Linked DNA regions of Homo sapiens: region 2 is linked to region 1. The links are contacts of gene promoters, found by promoter capture Hi-C in blood cells and fetal thymus (Javierre and others, 2016). All regions are on one chromosome and are shown on one strand. The core of a region is centred on a gene start or on the middle of the fragment in contact, and the rest is flanking DNA. Distances in the headings are between cores, read along the strand shown. Region 1 holds the start of ATP13A4-AS1 (ATP13A4 antisense RNA 1). Region 2 has its middle 130 kb from the start of MB21D2.

What was found. Contacts are between HindIII fragments. The CHiCAGO score rates a contact against its expected background, and 5 or more counts as called.
Region 2: a contact is called between a fragment that was not itself captured here and the fragment with the promoter of ATP13A4-AS1 in region 1, in 1 of 17 cell types (M2 macrophages). The highest score is 5.7, in M2 macrophages.

What each region holds. Positions count from the first base shown.
Region 1 is chr3:193,547,593-193,554,619 of GRCh38, reverse strand. ATP13A4-AS1 (ATP13A4 antisense RNA 1) reads right to left here and starts at 1,407. Exons shown (of 2, transcript NR_121666.1): 1 at 1,333-1,407. All of the region lies in intron 1 of ATP13A4 (ATPase 13A4), which reads left to right. The HindIII fragment of the contact is 3,457 bases long and covers 1-2,769 here.
Region 2 is chr3:193,042,485-193,049,181 of GRCh38, reverse strand. No RefSeq gene overlaps it. Among named protein-coding and RNA genes, the nearest start is that of MB21D2, 130 kb to the right of the region's middle. The HindIII fragment of the contact is 1,622 bases long and covers 2,540-4,161 here.

The DNA.
Region 1 (7,027 bases), core at 158-2,657:
TTCACTCTGGTATTACACGAGAAAAGGTCATGTTTGAGAAATCTCTCTATCCTGTAAATATAACCTCTGACAGCAGAAATTTGCTAGAATGAAAATATTGTATTCATCTTGTCAAGAATGTTTTCTTTTTAAAGAAAACAGAGAGGGAGAGAAGCACCATGCACTTTATGATTCTTGTTTGAGCCTCATTGGTATAGCCAGTTCTGTTCAAAACACCTAACAATTTTAGGAAATCCCTAATGTGAGGAGCAGTGTATTCCCTGATAGGAAGAAGCAGAAGTTCAGCAGTGAAGCAGAAGTGCAGCTGGGTCTTTGACCTTCTCTTCTCAAATGTCTTGTTCACCGAGTCTGTTGGACAGGGAAGACATGCAATATTAACAATTATCAGCCTACACACATTTCTGTTTTCTTCTAGAATTTTACTTTTGTGGCTTCCTCATTATAGAGATTGGTTACAGAAAACTTTCGGTAGTTCAGTATCTCTTTGATTTTAGATGTGCTTCTATCTTGAGAACTATAGGAAAATCAAAGATGACTTTCATGCTCAGGATGAATTTAAAACTGTATTTCTCAATTACAATATAATCAAGAGAGAGTTAGAAATATGTACTTCTGTTTAATAAGATCTTTCTGCTAATTGTGTAAGCATAGTCTTTTATGCCAGTAATGATGTAATTAAAATGTTAAAATGTGACGCTCTCATTCCATAATAGCATTTAATCTTCCTGGAATTAATATGTAAATAACAAACCTGAAAGATATTTACTTAAAATGTTTTCTTGGTTAATTGCTTTAGCCCTGACTATTACATTCTTTGTTCCTAAACTGGTCTTTCAAGTCTAATCTGCTTACCTGTTCCTATAGCAACAACATTTTTTGGACTTTCAAGAGTAGATCCCTTCTGCTATCAAAGCTGAAAAAATTATAAAGAAGTAAAATGTACATTAATTCAGGTGCCTTTCTTAACCATATCCTTTACTTCATTCAGATTTGACTGCCAAATGAATTGCCTTCAGCCCCTCCACAAATGTCACCAGAAATGGCTTGCTAGCCCACATTGGATATCATCTTTGTTTCTTTAAAGAGTTTTCTTTAGGAAGTGAATATCTCATTACTCTCGATATTAAGTTGAAAAGTTTATCTTCATCTTGAATACTCTTCACCAGAAGGCAGGGGCTCCTTCCTCTGAAACATTTTTTTTCTCTCTCATTTAGAAATACACTCACTCTTTTCCAGTAAACCCCTTTCTGCTCTCAGACAATTTGTCTTTCAAGTCTCAATAAGAATCATTTATTTTCCAGAAGACATTCATGGTTGTAGGGAAACTGTTACCTCTTCCCTAGCATACATATTCCACCAAAGCAATTTAGTTAACAGTTCATCTTCATAATGGCACCATCAGATGCATGGAGAACTCCACGTAGTTTTGTATGCAGCTGAAAGCCCAGTTAGGAGAGGCCCTTTAATATGGAAAGGGACACTGTGTTTTCTGGTAGGCAGCCATTTGGCCAGTAGTCTCAGCAGAGGTGCAGCAATTAGTATGCACTCCTGAGCTCTCCATCCTCTTCTGCCTACAGAAACCTGGCCACCTGCCTGTTGCTGTGTCTGACACTGTGTTCCTTTTTAACTCACTCCTCCATCCCTTGCCCAGAGCAGTAAACTTTAAAAATTATCAAGCTATATATATAGTCTACATATTTTGTAGTGATTTTTAGTATACACAGCATTTTCTTGGCCACTAGCTAATTTAGTTTTCCTCACAACCCTATGAGGTAGATGCTGTGATTCTAACTTTAAAGATGAGGAAATTGATGCACACAGGCTTTCCCTAAGGTTGCATCAACCAGTAAGTCCAGGAGCTGAGGCACCGCACAGGTTAGTTTAAGTTGACAGCTCTTTTGTCTCTGGACCTGAACATAGCCCACTGATACCTTTTCCAGTTCTTCCGGAGAACATTCCACTCTTAACAGAACACATTCCCTTCCTTCATAAAACAAAGCTAAGGAGAACATCAACATCCAGTCTTCTTAGATTCCCCAGCATCTGTTCTGTTATAGATAATTTGAGTTTCTTTTTTCTTCTAGATAATTCGAGTAGCTTAAATAAGTCTGTCTTCTCTGACTTCCAAGTCCAGAAATGTGTCACACCAAAGTGTTTAGTTTCATGCTTTATAATATACTTTACTTGAACCTTTGCAAACGTAATTTCTCTTGTGGTAGAAATTACTTCAAATTTCAAGAGAAAACAACATGCTAGGGTTTAGACCTCATGTCAAATAAAGAAGAATATTCTGAGGCCTAAAGATGCCTGGGATTATCTTCCATTTTGGAGTTAAAAAACCAAAAACAGGCTGGGCATGGTGGCTCGTGCCTGTAATCCCAGCACTTTGGGAGGCCGAGGCGGGCGGATCACCAAGTCAAGAGATTGAGACCATCCTGGCCAACATGGTGAAACCCCATCTCTACTAAAAACACAAAAATTAGCTAGGCAGGGTGGCGTGCACCTGTAGTCCCAGCTACTTGGGAGGCTGAGGCAGGAGTATGGCGTGAACCTGGGAGGCAGAGGTTGCAGTGAGCCAAGATCGCGCCATGGCACTCCAGCCTGGCAACAGAGCAAGACTCTGTCTCAAAAATAAGTAAATAGATAAAAATAAATAAATAAACAAGTAACAAACCAAAAGCAAACAGGAACTAAAGAGCAACCCTAGGTGACCTGAAAATAATATCTTTAACTGCGAAATGAGACAGGACCCAAAGGTAGAAAGAAGCTTTTGGAGGGAGAAGGAAGGAAAGGTGAGAAAGTGGCCTTCAGCGAAGGTTCACCTAAATGACTGCCTCAGAAAGGCTTCGAGGAGGAAACTCTGGGAGAGCACTGGGACGGGACGGGAGGCCTGGCTCTCACCGGCCTTGGGCCAGCCGCTTGCCTGCTCTAGCCTCAGTTTTTATACCTGTAAAATAGGACTGGTCCTTCTTACCCCCACCAGACTCACAGAGTTCTCATGAAGATCAGTGGAGATAATCCATATAAACATGTTTTGAGAAGTAAACAGTTCTGGCGAGGTGTGAGCTGCTATCATCTAAATAAAGGTAGGAAAAGCCAAGGGCTTAGCAATTAACCAATTGAGTAAATACTATCCCACAAAAATGAGGTCATCTCTTGCCATTCAGTTATACCAAAAGGAATATGTACTTTTTTTTTTTCTTTTTGTTACACGGAGTCTTGCTCTGTTGCCAGGCTGGAGTGCAGTGGCGTGATCTCGGCTCACTGCAACCTCTGCCTCCTGGGTTCAAGTGTTTCTCCTGCTTCAGCCTCCCGAGTACCTGGGACTACAGCTGCATGCCACCATGCCTGGCTAATTTTTTGTATTTTTAGAAGAGATGGTGTTTCACCGTGTTGGCCAGGATGGTCTTAATCTCTTGACCTTGTGATCCACCTGCCTCAGCCTCCCAAAGTGCTGGGATTATGGGCATGAGCCACCGCACCTGGCCAGGAATATGTACTTTTATTCATAGGCCGTAGAGACCACTTATAAATGGAGAGGAGCTGGGTTATCTTCTACTTACCTTGTGCATACGTTGGGAAAACACCTACCTTTTTTAGCTTCCTTATTTGTAAAGTGAGAGTATGAGAATGTCTGGGAGCACAAATCTCTTTGAGTCCTGACGTTTTGTATTTCTATTTTGAAGGAATTTAGAACCATTTCCTTATACCATGGCTGAACGAAGGTATCATGGCTTAATTGATTCTAACATTGCTCTTTAGTTACACCTTAACACAATCAATCTTTTGGGGAAGTGTTTTGTTCCAGTGAGACTTTTAAAAAGTAACGTTCCCTGATATTTTTCTCTAGGCCTTAACAAATAAGACAAAAAATAAAAAAACCTTTGAATTCTTTTCTGATTATAAAGGTAACATATGTTTATTGTAAAAATATTGAAATGGCAAATAAGGATCTAAAGAATGAAGTAAATATGCTTCATGAGTTTACCACCAGACATGTCAATAAAAAATGCAGGCTGCGCGCCATGGCTCAAGCCTGTAATCCCGGCACTTTGGGAGGCTGAGGCGTGCAGATTGCTTGAGCCCAGGAGTTCCAGACCAGCCTGGGCAACATAGTGAAACCCTGTCTATAAAAATACAAAAAAATTATCTGGATGTGGTGGTATCCACCTGTAGTCCCAGCTACTTGAGAGGCTCAGGTGGGAAGCTCGCTTTGGTCCAGGAGGTTGAGGCTGCAGTGAGCTGAGATCATATCAGTGCACTCCAGCCTGGGGGATAGAGTGAGACTCCGTCTCAAAAAAAAAAAAAAAAAAACCTAAAATTCACCACTTTCTAACTATTTTGCTCTATCTTCATACTTATCTGTGCTTTTGAGATTATTTGCACCTAATTTATCTGTATCATGGAAATACTAGGTAGTGGTATTACACAGCATGGTGCAATTGTATTTCTTCCGAACTCCTAATTCAGTGACATCACATTGGTAGCTTGAAATAAATAATGTTGGTGCTATTTATGCCACAGAAATCTGTGGATACTACAACGGGACTTCCACCCTGCCCCGCCTGAAGGCCATTTGTTAAATACTTACCAGCACATCACTGAACATATTGTTGCCTCATAATTTCCCTTTTCCCCGCTACATGTTGAAAAACAACATGAATATTGTTTTTGGATATCATCCGTTTGTTTGCATCATGGCAAAACAAGATTATTCCATTGATTTAAAAATTCTATTCTTAAAAAATATACATATACTTAGAAATATGTATCTTTTTCATGTTAGTTTTTTTTGGAGAAAGGGTCTCTGTCTGGGTTGGAGTGCAATGGTGTGATCATAGCTCACCGCACCCTCAACCTCCCAGGCACAGGTGATCCTCCCACATCAGCCTCCTGAGTAGCTGGGACCACGGGCGCATGCCACCATGCCTGGCTAATTTTCCAGTATTTTATGTAGAGAGAGGGTTTCACCATGTTGCCCAGGCTGGTCTGAAACTCCTGGACCCAAGAGATCCACCTGCCTTGGCCTCCCAGAGTGCTGGAATTATAAGCGTGAGCATCCACACCTGGCCAATATGTATTTTTTAACAAAAATGGAGTGATTCTATCTCTACTTTAAAAAAAATTAGACTTTCCATTATACTTACAAATGCTTTATGGATCTCTCTCTCTCTCTCTCTCTCTCTATATATATATATATATTTGATAATTATAGTGTCACATAACCATTTCAATGTTCAAGTTGTGTTTGGATGAATTGTGCTGTATTAGCAGGTTTCCTGTGTTGCACAGCTATTATTTCTAATTTTTTTTTTTTGCTGTGATGAACAACTTTGTACTTAGATATTTATTTATTTTTCAGATTATTTCCTTAAGGTAAAGGCCTAGAATTATTATTACTGCCTCAAAGGGGACATGCATTTTAAATTTGGATTAACACATCATGCCAAATTACCCTTCAGAAGTTATAGTTGTACCAATGTATACTCGGATTAGCAGTCTTTTTTGAGAATACTTGCTTTCTCCTCCATTCATGCTGACATTGAAAATTATCAGTCTTTTTAACTTTGGCTCATTCAGTATACAAAATTGATATTCTGTGGTTGTATTATTTTTACATTTCCTTGATTTGAAGTTGAACACATCTTTGTATGTTTATTGGCATTTATATGTTTTCAACTAGAATCTCTTAATTTTGTAACTGATATTATACCAACCAGTAGTGGGTAACTAAAAACTAGCAGTGGAAAAGCACGGTAAACTCTTTTTGGACTTCCATGTCATTTCGGAGAACCTAGTAATGGGCACATAACGTGGCAGCAGGGTGGTGTGTGGTCGTTACCACATTGGAAGTCCTGTCATGCCTTCAGCAGGAGCTAGGAACATTTTTTTCCACCAATTACTTGGCTCACTTTGATAGCTGATGTTCGTCTTTTCTTCTCTAACACCCGGGAGCAAAAGCACCTCCCCCACCTCAATAGCCACTTGTTTATTATGCTCCATGAGCACCTCTGAGTCAGTTGCCAATGTTAACTAGTGAACCCACAGATCTCATAGTGGGGGAATTGTGTTCAGGCTGAGACATTTTGTCATTTGAAATGTTCAGGAAGCTGGGCCACTGGCCAAGTCTAATGTCTTTATTCTCAATTCATTGCTGCAGAACTCCCATGAAGTCAACTCATCTTCGATATAAATTTTAGAGGAGTGAAATTTAATTGCTTCTTGAAGACAGGGACCCTGCTCAATTAACATTTTCTTGGCTTATCCCTTCCCCTTCCCATTACACCCAGAATTTAACACAGTACCTGGCACAAAAACTCCGGGCATGATAGCGTAATTGCAAGCTCTATTAACTGCAATTTTGCATTCTGAGAACAGGGATGCAGCAGAGCTCAAAAGTAGGAGTGGTTTGAGTAATTTAAAAATAAACCTAGAAAATGTTATGTTATTTATTTGGAGAGGTCAATGGTCAATAGTCTCAGGATTTTATCAATTAGTCCTCCTCTCCCCCAAGAATAACAAAAGCTTATTCTTCAGAGTTAATTAACCATACTATACTATTTTTCTATGAGATACTTTATCTTTTCATCCATTCATGTATAAACCCAACAAGTATTTAAGAAACCTCTACTTTTTGCCAGGAGTCCTCTGTGCTAACCAAGGAGGATTTTGAAAGAATAGCAAATAGCTTCTGTTTTCAAGCAGCTCACAATCGAGTGGCCGTGCTGAGTACATAATTTGCAAGACCCAGTGCAAAGTGAAAACGAGGTGTCCCTTGTTCAACAATTATTAAGAATTTCAGGATGGTGATAGCAGAGCATTAAGCCAAGTGTAGGGACCTTCTGAGCGTAGGGCCCTTCTGAGTGTGGGCCCTGTGTGACCACACAGGTTGTGTGCCCATGAAGTTGTCCCTGCAAGTTAGGAACCCAGGGCTACAAATATAATGAAAGTGTGATATAATAGGTATCATATTGAGAGCTATGCATACAGAACTGTGGGAACACAGAAGAAGGAACAATTTAGTCAA
Region 2 (6,697 bases), core at 2,101-4,600, 510 kb after region 1:
AGCAAGAACAGAAAATATTTCAGAAGTGGTGAGGTCACAGTTGCCCTGAGGATGTGCACCAGTTGCCCTGGTGCACGGCTGTAGTTCCAGCTACTCAGGAGGCTAAGGCGGGATAATCACTTGAACCCAGGAGGCAGAGGTTGCAGTGAGCCGAGATCGTGCCACTGCACTCCAACCTGATGATAGAACGAGACTCCATCTCAAAAAAAAAAAACAAAAACCTGCCAAACCTACTGAAGCAGAATCTTTGGGAACTTCATTCAGGAATCAGATTATTAACAAGCTCTAGAGTTATCTTATGAAGCCAGCATGGATCTGGTCCAAGTTGAAGTATTTGGGAACTGATAGACTAGATGATCTCTAGGGTCTTCTCCAAATCTTAAAATTCTATTTAAGAAATGTATTCTGCAAGTCAGGCATGGTGGTATGTGCCACTAGTCCCAACTACTCAAGAGTCTGAGGCAGGAGAATCACTTGAACCCAAAAATTCGTGGCTATGATCCCACCTGTAAATGAGAATGTTCACTGCACTCCAACGTGGGCAACATACCAAGATTTTGTTTAAAAAAAATTTGTTTGCTGTGATTCTTATGTTAGTAATTATACAACTAGTCATATAAATGTAATCTTTTTATCAGACTGTATCAGCCTAGATTTAGAAAGGGGGAAGGAAAAAACTAACAAAGTAAAAAAAAAAATCCACCAACTCTACCCTTTCCTGCTATTGCAGACTCTTCAAATTCCCATTTCCCCAGAATTTTGGGAGTTCACTGGGGATGTACACCGATAAACATTCTCTCTCCATTGTAGTAGCTTTCTCTTTCTGCTCATGTTCTGGATCTGATGTGCATGCCTCTTCTTATGAGTAACACATGTCATCTCTGAAACTCAATATTTTCTCCCAAAAAATCTTGCTGTAGCTGTTGTCACTCCATCCTATTGATACTAGTTGTACTGTGCTGTGCCAGAGGTACCACCATGAGCTATGCCACTCAGCCTTCTGAGACTCCTGATGAAGAGGACCACAGGCATCACTCAATTGTAAGCAGAGCAAATGTATTTCCTCTCACATGCTAATTCAGAACAATTGCTGTTGGGAATTCTGAGGCTGCATGAGGTTGGTGGAAAGTGCCATAATCAATTAATTATGATGGTTATGGGAGCAAGAATGAAGAATGATGGTATGCCAAGGATGTGCCATCTAATCCAAATCCTCTCTTTTCTTTCTGGCTATTTGTTTTGTTTTGTTTTACAAATGACAATACTGCAGCCCAGAGAAAGACTTACTCAAATTTGCACAAATATTGCAGAGACACCAATTGTATTAGTCAGGGTTCTCCAGAGGGACAGAATTAATAAGATAAATGTATATATAAAGGGGAGTTTATTAAGGAGTACTGACTCACACAATCACAAAGTGAAGTTCCACAATAGGCCATCTGCAAGCTGAGGAGCAAGGAAGCCAGTCCAAGTCCCAAAACCTCAAAAGTAGGGAAGCCAAAAGTGTAGCCTTCGGTCTGTGGCCAAAGGCCTGAGAGCCTCTGGAAAATCACTGGTGTTAAGTCCAAGAGTCCAAAAGCTGAAGAACCTGGAGTCTGATGTTCAAGGAAGGAAGCATCCAGCATGGGAGAAAGATGAAGGCTGGAAGACTCAGCAAGTCTAGTCCTTCCAAATTTTCTGCCTGCTTTATTCTAGCCACACTGGCAGCTGATTAGATGGTGCCCACCCAGATTGAGGGTGGGTCTGCCTCTCCCAGTCCACTGATTCAAATGTGTCAACACCCGCACAGATACACCCAGGAACAATATTTTGCATCCTTCAGTCCAATCAAGTTGACATTCAATATTAACCATCACACCAATCATCCCAAGCAGACTTTGGGTTAGAGGCAATTAGCCCATGTACAGGACTTTAGGCTGATGGTGTTCTCTCTCTCTCTCTTTCTCTCTCTCACTCTCTCTGTGTGTGTGTGTGTGTCTGTGTGTGTGTGTGTGTGTGTAAGAACCTGGACAGCCAGGTGCAGTGGCTCACGCCTGTAATCCCAGCGCTTTGGGAGGCCGAGGCAGGTGGATCACTTGAGGTCAAGAGTTTGAGACCAGCCTGGCCAACATGGTGAAACCCTGTCTCTACTAAAAATACAAAAATTAGCTGGGCATGGTGGTGGACGCCTGTAATCCCAACTACTCAGGAGGCTGAGGCAGGAGAATCACTTGAACCTGGGAGGTGGAGGTTGCGGTGAGCCAAGATTGTGCCACTGCACTCCAGCCTGGGCAACAAAGTGAGACTCTGTCACACACACACCCACACAAAAAGAACCTAGACAATATTCCATAATGCAATGCAATGCCTCGTGTACACAGTCCATGTGGGCTTTCTGATATTTATCTGTCCTTTTGAAGATTTTTTAATTAAAAAAACTCTATAGAATTTATTCAAGCAGCATTATCTTAGGACAACTACTTACTACATTTTCTAACAGTTGTTATTTCCCCTTTGTTAAAGAGTCAGCTGTAAAATAATGCTTTCTTTGCAGAAAGCTTGTGCCGCTGGACAGATTAGATAACTCGGGGGATTTGCAGCAGGCAGTGGAGACTTTAACCCGCAGGTCACCCCTTTCATCTCTCACCCAGATTAGGCCTGACAGCTGTTCACGATCCTCCTTGGAAGGGAATGCCCAGCCGCTTGCCTCAAGACAATTGGCATCAAACTATGGAACCCTTTTGAAAGTCTTGAAATATATTTTGTCATTCCTTTTAGTCCAGGTGTCTGTCATTTCACAAATCACAAGAGTACCACAAAAACCTGGATGAAGTTTAGTTAGCACAGAGCAAAGAGGCTCTGACCGCTGAAATAGATATTGATGACTGGCCCCAAAGCTCCATCCACAAACCACAGGCAAAAAACAGTTTCACCACATATAATCCAGGGTCTGTGATAGGTGCTGAACAGATGTTGCTTCTTGAAGAACAGTCTCTCTGGCTACTTTTCTAGAGAGTTCTTTATTCTACCCCATCTTCGCTTCCCCAGAGTGAGGTCCAAAGCAGTTGCAACATATCTTGCAGGTAGAAGCTGGTTGAGTTCAACTCACTCACAACTAGAAAACTGAATTCGTCTCAGAAAACATCCATTTATATTGTGATTGTTGGGATGGTTGGTTTTATTACAGGAAGGGAGAGTGGAAAATAATATATTATAAATGGGATTTTTAATATTATTGATCTATAGCAATAATCCCCAACTTCTTCAACAAAAGAACACCTCATATATGCAGAACCATGCCACATCCCACAACACACACATACATAACTGTGGCCATATTTTTTACATGCCTGGAATGAAAAAATATTTATACTTCAAGATCTCTGGAACTCTTGTAATAATTTCTTGTCTCCCTAATTCTCCTTTCACTCCTCCAGATGAGGAGCCTCTGCCTAGAGGAGTGGTCCATGCATGCATTCTCACAGGTAGGAATACCTATTGAAATACCCAGTAGAGTCTCGTAAAGGAGTCTCCATGCTTCATCTTCATAGATGGACAACAATAAGAACGTGCTGTGGAGTAAAAAACTCAGTGACAATTTTCATCCCAGGTTGCTACTTATTCATTTTTTTTGTATGAAACTTACATTTCTTTTTTTAACTTTTAAGTTCAGGAGTACATGTGCAGGTTTGTTATTTATGTAAACTTATGTCACAGGGATTTGTTGTACAGATTATTTTGTCACCCAGGTGTTAAGCCTAATACTCATTAGTTATTTTTCCTGATCCTCTCCTTCCTCCTACCCTCCACCCTCAGGTAGGCCCCTGTGCCTGCTGTTCCTCTCTATGTGTCCATGTGTTCTCATCATTTAGCTCCTGCTTATAAGTGAGAATGTGAAATATTTAATTTTCTGTTCCTGCATTAGTTTGCTAAGGATAATGGCCTCCGTTGTATGGCTGCATAGTATTCCATGGTGTATACGTACTGCATTTTCTTTATCCAGTCTACCACTCATGGACATTTAGGTTGATTCCATGTGTTTGCTGTAGTGAATAGTGCTGCAAGAACATACATGTGCATGTGTCTTTATGATGGCATGACCTACATTCCTTTGGGTATATACCCAGTCACTGTATATTTATATATATTTTTATCCCAAATCTTTCAATTTAAGACTAAGCTTAAATGATCTCCAAGTCACTATATATTTATATATATTTTATCCCAAATATTTCAATTTAAGACTAAGCTTAAACGATCTCCATGAAACATATTACTGCTGTTATTGTTATTATTTCTTCTACTTTCATATGTGTCATTAATAAATTGTTGGGAATAAAGAGCATTGTTAGATTTTTCTTTGTTTATTAAAGGAAGATATTTTAATATTTATTGTTTTATTTATTTTTGAGACAGGGTCTCACTCTGTTGCCCAGGCTGGAGTGCAGTGGTAAGATCATGGCTTACTGCAGCCTCAACCACCCAGGCTCAAGTGATCCTCCCACTTTAGCCTCCTAAGTAACTGGGACTACAGGTTTACACCACCATGCCTGGCTAATTTTTTTTATTTTTTGTACAGACAGCGTTTTGCCATGTTACCCAGGTTGGTCTCAAACTTCTGCACTCAAGTGATTATCCAACCTTGGCCTCCCAAAGTGCTGGGATTACAGGTGTGAGCTACCACACCCAGGCTGAAGGAAGGTATTTTAAAGAATTGTGGTATAATGGAGAGATTGGATTAATACTCAGAAGACCTATTCTGATTATTAGGCTACTTGGCCACATGACTTAACTCTTCTGAGCCTCAATTTTGTTATGTATGAATTCAAAAACATTGTTCCCATTCTTGCCTCATAGCATTGTTACAGAGATCAAATATGTTAATATATTTGAAAAAACTTTAAGCTTTTTAAAAAGTATTTTGTGCTACTTATAATCTATTCTTTTCTAACTAAAGGAGTAATGGTAGTTTATTATGGAAAATTGGAAAATGCAATACAGTAGAAAGTAAATTAATGTGACTCATAATCTCACAATTTAGAAATATCAACTGTTAAAATTTTGACATGTAAACTTCCACACTATTTGTCTTCTGTATACATGTGTATGTGTTTGAAAAATCAAAGTCACATTATAAACATGGCTTATGACATACATTTTTTCACTTAAGTGTCTTGAGTGTTATAGACTGAATTGTGTTTCCTCCAAATTCCTATGCGGAAGTCCTCACTCCTAATATGACTGCATTTGGAGAAAGGGCCTTTAAAGAGGTAATTGCAGTTCAATGAGGTGGTAAGGGTGAAGCCCTGTTCCAACATGACTGGTGTCCTTATAAGAAAAGGGAGAGAAAGGGCGCAGTGGCTCACGCCTGTAATCCCAGCACTTTAGGAGGCTGAGGTGTGTAGATCACGAGGTCAGGAGTTCGAGACCAGCCTGATCAACATGGTGAAACCACGTCTCTACTAAAAATACAAAAATTAGCTGGGCATGGTGGTGCGCACCTGTAGTCCCAGCTACTCAGGAGGCTGAGGCAGGAGAATCGTTTGAACCCAGGAGACAGAGGATGCAGTGAGCCGAGATCATGCCACTGCACTCCAACCTGGGTGACAGAGTGAGACTCCATCTTAAAAAAAAAAAGAAAAAAGAAAAGGGAGAGACACCAAGAATGTACAAACACAGAGAAAGGACCATGTGAAAACACAGCAAGAAGGAGGCCAGCTGCAAGCCAAGGACAGAGGCCTCAGGAGACAGCAACCCTGCTGGCACCCTGATCTTGGACTTTTGTTCTCCAGAACTGTGATAAATCAATTTCTGTTGTTTATGTTACAAGGTCTATGGTATTTTGTTATGGCAGCACCAGGAAAATAATATATTGAGCATTTCCCTGTAAATATTTTTAAATAATTTTATTTTTAATGACTGAAAATTCATCATTTTGATATAATTATGTAGCTAATCCTCTTTTTTGAAATATTTAGGTCATTCCCAATTTTTGCTATCATGAATAATGCTTTTAATATCCTTGTATGTTGGTAAATCATTTTTTAGATGCAAAATGCCCTCCAAAAAGACCATAGTATAAATTAATGGGAATAAATTATGGGAATTCTTCATACTATTTCTGCAACTTTTCTGGGTTAAAAATTACTTCAAAATAAAAATGAGAGAGAAGGCCAGGCGTGGTGCCTCACGCCTGTAATCCCAGCACTTTGGGAGGCCAAAGTGGGTGGGTCACCTGAGGTCAGGAGTTCGAGACCAGTCTGGCCAACATGGTGAAACCCCGTCTCTACTAAAAACACAAAAATTAGCCGGGCATGGTGGCGGGAGCCTGTAATTCCAGCTACCTGGGAGGCTGAGGCAGGAGAATCACTTGAATCCCGGAGGCGGAAGTTGCAGTGAGCTGAGACCATGCCATTGCACTCCAGCCTGGGCAATAAGAGCAAAACTCCATCTAAAAAAAAAAAAAGTGAAGAGAAATCTCATAACAAAGCTAGAATTCCACTAGAATATGTACATGAGTATTATCCTGCAGCCAATATTGTATAGGCACAGGACCAGAAAAGCCTTCTTGGAGATCAATATTCTGATTGCAAATACTGTCAATCCAACAGGGGACTCTAACAGGAATGCTTTCTCTTGGCAGGAATTTGACAATTTGGTGCACAGCTAAGGATGGGGAAGGAAGGAAATTTAGAAACATCTTTCTAAAAATTATTGG